3 separate regions of the Homo sapiens genome follow, and regions 1 and 3 are each linked to region 2. The links are contacts of gene promoters, found by promoter capture Hi-C in blood cells and fetal thymus (Javierre and others, 2016). All regions are on one chromosome and are shown on one strand. Each heading gives the region's core, a stretch centred on a gene start or on the middle of the fragment in contact. The rest is flanking DNA. Distances are from core to core; before and after follow the strand shown. Region 1 overlaps ASXL2 (ASXL transcriptional regulator 2). Region 2 holds the start of RAB10 (RAB10, member RAS oncogene family). Region 3 holds the start of GAREM2 (GRB2 associated regulator of MAPK1 subtype 2).

The links. Contacts are between HindIII fragments. The CHiCAGO score rates a contact against its expected background, and 5 or more counts as called.
Region 1: a fragment that was not itself captured here is called in contact with the fragment with the promoter of RAB10 in region 2 in 1 of 17 cell types (megakaryocytes); the score reaches 6.0 in megakaryocytes.
Region 3: the fragment with the promoter of GAREM2 here is called in contact with the fragment with the promoter of RAB10 in region 2 in 11 of 17 cell types (activated CD4 T cells, naive CD8 T cells, naive CD4 T cells and 8 more); the score reaches 8.9 in activated CD4 T cells.

The regions. Positions count from the first base shown.
Region 1 is chr2:25,853,764-25,856,463 of GRCh38, forward strand. All of the region lies in intron 1 of ASXL2 (ASXL transcriptional regulator 2), which reads right to left. Among named protein-coding and RNA genes, the nearest start is that of ASXL2, 23 kb to the right of the region's middle. The HindIII fragment of the contact is 5,052 bases long and covers 1-2,700 here.
Region 2 is chr2:26,032,772-26,035,471 of GRCh38, forward strand. It overlaps RAB10 (RAB10, member RAS oncogene family), which reads left to right and starts at 1,313. Exons shown (of 6, transcript NM_016131.5): 1 at 1,313-1,964. The coding sequence starts at 1,838. LOC124907743 (a long non-coding RNA gene) reads right to left here and starts at 978. Exons shown (of 2, transcript XR_007086249.1): 1 at 907-978. RefSeq lists a silencer at 979-1,208 and an enhancer at 1,519-1,568. The HindIII fragment of the contact is 14,591 bases long and covers 1-2,700 here.
Region 3 is chr2:26,171,737-26,174,436 of GRCh38, forward strand. It overlaps GAREM2 (GRB2 associated regulator of MAPK1 subtype 2), which reads left to right and starts at 1,352. Exons shown (of 6, transcript NM_001168241.2): 1 at 1,352-1,596. The coding sequence starts at 1,485. The HindIII fragment of the contact is 3,276 bases long and covers 1-2,700 here.

The sequences.
Region 1 (2,700 bases), core at 80-2,579, 180 kb before region 2:
CTCCCAAGTAGCTAGGACTACAAGTGTGAACCACCATGCCCAGCCTTATTCATCTAGTATTACTAGTGCCTATTATATGACAGATCTAAAACACTTAATGGTTGGCTGATGGAATTAGGAACATATGTGGCAAGATTAGCTTCAGACACTAGTAAAAATGCCTCTTTTTAAAAAAGGATAAAAGGTGAGGGAAAATGCAAATAAATTTACAGATTTGGGCGCAGAAACTTGAGTGTAAAAGTAGCTGAGAATACTTAAATACGAAACCTATACAGAGAGGCACCTACAGATATACAGAGAAGATTACAGAAGCTGACATTGTAAGCTCATGGGCATAGTTTACCTAGGGGTCCCTCAATTCTGAACAGCTCTATCAAGTCACTTGGGTTTAGTCTTTCCTAGCTTGGATTCTTTTAATTATCCAAAAAGTCTGGAGGTTATACACACTCCCTAGTTCAAGAAAAAAAGCTCTCAACCAAACTCTCTTCAAACTCTTTAGAGTTAATAACACTAACAGTTAATACTTATCTAGCATTTAACTGCCAAGCACTATTCTAAGTGATTTAGATATATTAGCTTATTTAACCTTTACAATAAACCTATGAGGTAGATACTATCAGCCCATTTTTTTTCAGATGTGAAAACTGAAGTGCAGAGAAATTAAATAACTTGCCTAAGGTTTTGTCAGCTAATTAATGAAAAGAGCCACTGCTGCTGCTGAGTTGTCCAACTTGTCATCAGCAGAATCCAACTCTCAGAACCCTGTTATAATTCCTCAAAAAGAAGAGCCAACCACTTCGGTGGCTCTGAAGGTGACAGCAATTTGTAGCTTAACCTAGTAGGTGCTCCTCAGTGCTTCCACATCTAATGATAAAAGGCAAGTACAGCATATGGCAAAGGCATGATATGGAAAAGAGAAATAGGGGCTTAGACTCCTCAGGAATGATGGCTTCAGGCAAGCAACCTTGATCAGCTGCAGTCTGGCCATGAGTGACGGAAATCTAGACTAGGCAGTGGCAGAAGGAGATGATGAATATTAATACGGCCTTGGAACCAGCTACTGCAGCAGAGACTATGACCTATTCCACTCATCCTCTATAGTAAGCCATTTTAAGAGACTGCTGCCAGTGTCTGTCTTGAGGAGCTGATGTCAAGAACAGGCTTACTGTAGAGCACAAGCCATTAAGAAACACATCCAAATAGAAACTTTCAGTGTCCTGCAACACACATATCCCTCAAGAACCTCCTCAGCTCTGGCAGACAGTGCCGCTCACACACTGCCAGCATGCCACCTTCGCTCATGCTGCTCTGTATATGACATACCTTCCCTACTCCTTTTGACAGATACCTCAAAGTTTATCTATCACTCAACAAAATAGCAAAGATTTTTAAACTGGTAATATTAAATTCTTCAAGAGTTGAATCAGACAGGCACATACACACTAAACAGTGGAGAGGGTAAAATGATACACCTTTATAGATAGTAACTTGGTAACAGGCCAGGCGCAGTGGCTCACATCTGTAATCCCAGCACTTCTTGGGAGGCCGAGGTGGGTGGATTGCTTTGAGCCCAGGAGTTAGAGACCAGCCTGGGAAACATGGTGAAACTCTATCCCTACTAAAAATATAAAAATTAAGCTCATGCCTGTAATCTCAGCACTTTGGAAGGCCAAGGCGGGCAGATTCCCTGAGGTCAGGAGTTTGAGACTAGCCTGGCCAACATGCCAAAACCCCGTCTCTGCTAAAAACACAAAAATGAGCTGGGTGTGGTGGTGCATGCCTGTAATCTCAACTTGGGAAGCTGAGGCAGGAGAATCACTTGAACCCAGGAGGTGGAGGTTGCAGTGAGCTGAGATCATGCCACTGCACTCCAGGCTGGGCGACAGAGTGAGACTCTTGTCTCAAATAAATAAATAAAAATATAAAAATTAGCCGAGCATGCTGGCACACACCTGTGGTCCCAGCTACTCAAGAGGCTGAGTGGACTGCTTGATCCCGGGAGGCAGAGGTTGCAGTGAGCCGAGATCGTGCCACTGCACTCCAGCCTGGGCGACAGAGCGAGACTCCGTCTCAAAAAAAAAAAAAAGAGAGAGAGACAGAAACACAATCTTGATAATGCATTTATTTATTTATTTATTTATTTATTTAGAGACAGAGTCTCGCTCTGTCGGCCAGGCTGCAGTGCAGTGGCGTGATCTCAGCTCACCACAGCCTCCGTCTCCCGGGTTCAAGCAATTCTCTGACCTCAGCCTCCCGAGTAGCTGGGATTACAGGCATGCACCACCATACCTAATTTTTGTTTTTTGTTTTTTGAGACGGAGTCTCACTTTGTCGCCAGGCTGGAGTGCAGCAGTGCAATCTCGGGTCACTGCAACCTCCGCCTCCTGGGTTCAAGCAATTCTCCTGCCTCAGCCTCCCAAGTAGCTGGGACTACAGGCCTGTACCACCATGCCCAGCTAATTTTTGTATTTTTATTAGAGATGGGGTTTCACCATGTCGGCCAGGCTGGTCTCAAACTCCTAACCTCAGGTGATCCGCCCACCTCAGCCTCCCAAAGTGCTGGGATTACAGGCATGAGCCACTGCTCACCTGGCCTATACTTTTTTTTTTTTTTTTTTTTTGACACCAGTGTTTATTTCAGGAAGCAGGTCTGGAAGACCTGGGTCTGTCCAGTGGAGTCCTGGAGTCTCCAGCTTCTCA
Region 2 (2,700 bases), core at 63-2,562:
ACGCCTGTAATCCCAGCACTTTGGGAGGCCGGGGCGGGCGGGTCACCTGTCAGGTGTTCGACACCAGCCTGACTAACAGGGTGAAACCCCGTCTCTACTAAATACAAAAAATTAGCCGGGCGTGGTAGCACATGCCTGTAATCCCAGCTACTTGGGAGGCCGAGGCAGGAGAATCACTTGAACCCAGGTGGTGGAGGTTGCAGTGAGCAGAGATTGTGCCATTGCACTCTAGCCTGGGCAACAAGAGCGAAACTCCATCTCAAAAAAAAAAAAAAAAAGAAAGAAAAGAAAAAAAGAAAAAGAAAATGCGAGGAAACGAGCGAAACTCCATCTCAAAAAAAAAAAAAAAAAAAAGAAAGAAAAGAAAAAAAGAAAAAGAAAATGCGAGGAAGCAGGCTGTGTCGGACTGGGAGTAGGCTTGACCACCTTTCAATTTTCAACCCAGTGGTACGACGCTGGCGGCAGGCAGAGGCCCCACCTCCTCTGCAGAGCGCTCTCGGGTTCTCCCGGATTCCTGAAGGACGGCAAAGGCCTGAAGCAGGTTCTCTGAGCACCGCACAGAACCCTCCACTTCGCAGGGAGGTTCTTCCTGCGCCCAGGTGTTCCTCAACCTTCCTCTCCTCGCCCAGGAAGAGGTTGTGAGGATTACCTCATCCCAACCCGAGCGGCGTGGCCAGCTTTTCCATCTCAAACTCTTGCTCTTGAAGTCAATCCGGATGGAGCGCTCATGTTTCCCCGTCAGGGCTGGCCCTGGAGAGGGGGCACGCCGGGAGGCGTCTCGTTCTAGCAAAGAGGCTATTAAATGACCCAGGGCGCGGCTTTTTCTCGCGTTTACGAGCTCCACCTACACGGGAACACATGGCCACCCAAGCCCGTCGCTGCGCCAAGACCTCCAGCTCAACACACCCGACAAGCGCTGTGCAGAGAAACCGCAGCGCAGTCCAGCGGGAGACCCCGGGAGGGGAAGGAGGTGCTGGGCTCTGTAAGGGTGTCCCGGGGAGCGGGGAGCGGGAGGCGGGAGGCGGGGGTCGGAGGGGGGGCGCTGCGCCTGCGCAGTCGCTAGGTAGCGTCTCCCCCGGGGCGTGCTCGTAACGCCGCGCACCCTATCAGGCGGCCACAGGGAGCGCGCCCGCGGCCTCGCCCTTTCTCGCCCCTCCCTTCTCCCCTCTGGGTCCAGCCTCAGACTGAGGCTTGGAGACAGGAGCATTCCACTCGCCACTTCGGCGCGCCCCCATGCCCTCTTGTGCGCGTGCGCAGAGGCGGACCGCAAGGCTAGGGCGTGAGGGAAGGGCGGGCGTACGCCCTTGCGTGCGTCTCAGGCAGCGCGCACGCCGGCGTGAGAGGGCACGGGGAAAAGGTGGCTCTGGCCGGGGTGGCTCGGTTTCCTGGGGCTATGTAACTGAGCTCGTCGACTTAGGGGTCCTTCTTCGCTGCCCTCGCCGCGTGCTAGCAGGGAGTTTCCGCTCGGGAGAGAGACTGTCCTCACGCCCGCTGCGCCTCCTCGACGGCAGAGCAGGCTTGCTCGCCCGTGGGAGCGTCCCGGCCGAGAAGCCCTGAGGGGGGAGGGGAGGCCATTTTGTCCCGACCGACTCCCCGGAACCGGGCGGACGGGCTGGGAGAGGCTGCGGAGCCGCGGTCGCCGCCCTCGGAGGCACTGGACGCCGCCACTGTCGGGGCTTCCTCAAAGCTGTTCGTAGGTCGCCCGCGCCGTCTCGAGCCTTTTTCCCACGCTTCCCCGGTCCTCCGGCCTGAGAACGCCCGAGTGAGGAGTTGGCCGTAGTGAGAGGGACCGATCCCTTGGGGCCGCCGGCGGCGAGAGCCCGAGCCGCTCCTCCCAATGGCGAAGAAGACGTACGACCTGCTTTTCAAGCTGCTCCTGATCGGGGATTCCGGAGTGGGGAAGACCTGCGTCCTTTTTCGTTTTTCGGATGATGCCTTCAATACTACCTTTATTTCCACCATAGGTAAGACCTGTGGGAGGACGGTGTACGGTCTCGGTAGCTGCATACCGTTTATTTTACTCCAGACATCTTGCTTCCCGTAATATACGCCTTTGTTTCAGTGATTCCGATTCCAAACGACACATCCAAGTTACTGTTTGAATCGGCATCGAGCTTACTGGGGCGGGGTCTTCCCATGATTTCCATCCGGTCTTTTGCTTTCGAGTCTCCCACTATGCTCAGTGCCTTCTGTTACAAAATATGCATCATTTAACCATGTTCCAGAACCTTATTTCTTCAGGCGACTGGACTGGCTTTTTCCACATTTGCGTGGAATTAGTAGATGTGTGATATTTTTAAGGTATTTATTTCAGTGGTTGCGATTGAAGCAGTACTAGCTATTTGGGAAAGGCCTGAATTTATACTTTGGGGCAAAGAAAAGATTCCATATGGTGATAACTTAGAGTAAACTTGAGGGTTTCTGAGAAGAATAATTAAGGTAAATTAGAAGGGAAGAGTGAGTTGCCCTCATTCACTAATCCATTGATGTGTCAAACAATCGGAGGCTCTTCGCGCTTGGGGTGGGACTCTGGCATATTTGCCTCAGTGCTTTTCGAGACATCAACAGAAGCAGTAATCTGAGGGAGATGATCAGTTTCTGTCCTCAAACCCAACGGAGTGAAGTCAAGCTCTCTCTTCTATTTTATTTGACTCTAGTATTTACAGGAAAGTATTTTGCCAGTCATAGCCCTATGGACTT
Region 3 (2,700 bases), core at 102-2,601, 140 kb after region 2:
GGTCCCAAAGGGAGGCCCCGAGCTGGAGTCCAGGGGGCTTGGAAGGAAGAGGTGAGGACAGCAGAAAAGGAAACGCAAATTAAAAGAAGGGAACGAAGGCTGGGCGCGGTGGCTTACGCCTGTAAGTCCAGCACTTTGGGAGGCCGAGTCGGGAGGATCGCTTGAGGTCAGGAGTTCAAGACCAGCCTGGCCAACATGGTGAAACGCCGTCTCTACTAAAAATACAAAAAAATTAGCCAGGAGTGGTGGCAGGTGCCTGTCATCCCAGCTACTCCGCAGGCTGAGGTGGGAGGATCGCTTGAGCCCGGGAGGTGGGGGTTGCAGTGAGCCGAGATCGCGCCACTGCACTCCAGGCTGGGTGATAGAGTGAGACCCAGTCTCAAAAAAAGAGAAGGAAAAGAGAGAAGGGATGGTGGCGGTGGGGGAGGAAGGCGGTTCTTGTAATGATCCGAGAGGAGACCGCAGCACCGGTTACGCCCTCGAACCTCGGCCTCCTCATCTGCAGAATGGACGCAGTCCACACCGCGTGCTGTGGAAGGGTTGGAGCGCCGGTTTACATGACACAGGGCTATCGGCTAAGGGGGCGCTGGGAACGTGGAAGGTGCTCTATGGTGGGGCGCTGTAGGGTGCTCTTGGGCAGTAGGGTTGGAGTCAAATCTGGGTTGAAGTCCAACCTAGGTTGAAGTCCTGGCTGCCACCTGACCTCTGCCCCTCAGTTTGCTCATCAGTAAAATGGGGTTAAGGAGGCTGCCTCGCCCAGCTCCACGGAGCCGGAGGTGATGAAGGTCCTGGAAGAGCAGAATTCAGAACCCGAGCTTTGGGCGGCGGAGCAGGACAGGGCGCGGGTGGGCGCGGCCTCCGGGAGGCCAGCACGAGGGGGAGCGGCGGGGCCCGGACACACCCAGCCAGAAGGAGGAGGCCGACCCCGCGCCGACTCCGCAGATGCCGCTCGGGACTTCGTTGTCCCTCCAGGCGCCCGCCCTGGGGTCCTCCATCACCCGCCGTCACCTGGGCGCGGGGAAGCTGGCGGGAGGGGAGGCGGGGCTTGGCGGCAGCGGCGGGTGGGGGCCGGGGAGCGGGGGCAGGGGCGGGCGGACGGAGCGCGGGGCTGGGGACCCGGGGTCCCAGAAGGGGGCGCGGGGACGGGGTCCGAGGAGAGGGGGCCGGGGCGGGGCAGGGCGGACAGGGCTGGGGGCGGAGGTCCGGGGGTGGGTCCGGCGGCGAGTCCGGGTCGGGGCGGACAGAGCAGGGGGCGGGGGTCCGGGAGGAGGGGGCCGGGGTCCGGGAGGAGGGGGCGGGGCCCGGGGGCGGGGCCGGGGTCGGCGCCCTGCGGGGAGGCCGGCCACGTGACGCCCGCGGCCCGGCGGGGCTGCCAGGCGGCGAGCGCCGCGGCGGCCCCGGGAGGTGGCGGCGGGCGCGAGAGCCTGGGCCGCGCGGGACTGACCGTCGGGGCCCCGGGACGGCGGCCCCGGGGCGCCCATGCCATGGAGAAGCTGGCGGCCGGGCTGGCCGGCCTGCGCTGGAGCATGGGCGCCTTCCCGCTCGACCTCATCGTCAGCCGCTGCCGCCTGCCCACGCTCGCCTGCCTTGGGCCAGGTACCGGGGTCGCTGGAGATGGGGACCGGGGTCCGCGGGGAAATGGTGGGCTCTCCAGCCAGGGGCCAGAGGGATCGTGAGGAGGGTGCGGCACCCGCACCCTCCCAGCTCCCCGGCGTGGGCCCCGAGCGGTTCCTGGCGCGCCTCCCGGGAGACGCGGGGCCCACCCGCCAGGTCCGCCTCCTGGGCCCCGCGGACAAGCACAGGCACAGACACCGGGGACAGGGCCCGGGACAGAGTTTTCCCGCCCAGCTGGAGTCCGGAAAGGGGCCGAGCCCCTGCTCCCGCCCCGTCGGTTGCCCCCCTTTCCCCCGCTGCCCCTGGGCCCCCCGCCCCGGCCGCGCCCCCTTGGTCCCTTTGTCCCTGGCCTCTCACCTCTGTCTTCCCTCATCCCTGGGACCCGGACTCTGTCTTCCCCTTACCGCCACCCCTAGTCCTGCTCCGCCCCTCTGGGGACCCTTCTTGCACCTCCTTTCTCTTCCCTAGGAGCAGCCTCGGTCCTGGGGCGGGCAGGCCACCTTCGGGAGAGGCCGGCGGGAGCCGGGTCTGCTGCCCGGCGTGACCCCCAAACTCCCGGCCCTCCCCCGAATCTTGTCCCACTTCTTAATAGGACCTGGGGCCCCCAGCCGCTCGGCTGATGGAACCACGCATGGGGGCCCGAGAGGGTACGCCCGGAGGCTGCATGGAGCGAGGGGACCGTTTGGGGGGAGGGGGGTGCTGCTTGGTTGGGGGATGGGCGGTAGCCGGGGCTGGCAGCCAGGCCGGGGGTTTTGTGTGTGAGAAGAATAGGGGTTTGGCCCGCGTTGGCACACTCGCTTCCATGAATGCTAATGGGGCCCGCGGCCGCAGGCTCCTCGTCTCCCCGTGGGGCCCGGCAGCCCCTCCTCCGTGGCGGCCAGGAGTGGGCACAGTGGGCGTCAGCTGTCCCGGGAGCAGGCTCATGGGGGAGCATCGGCGCCCCGCCGTCGGGCAGGCCAGCGTCTAGTTCTCTGGCTCGCGGCCGAGTGGTCAGAGTGTGGTACTGTGTCTGCCTGTGAATGGAGGTCGCTGCCCTGGGGTCTTCTGGCCACTTCCCACACATCCTTTTTGGCATCTCCCCTTTCT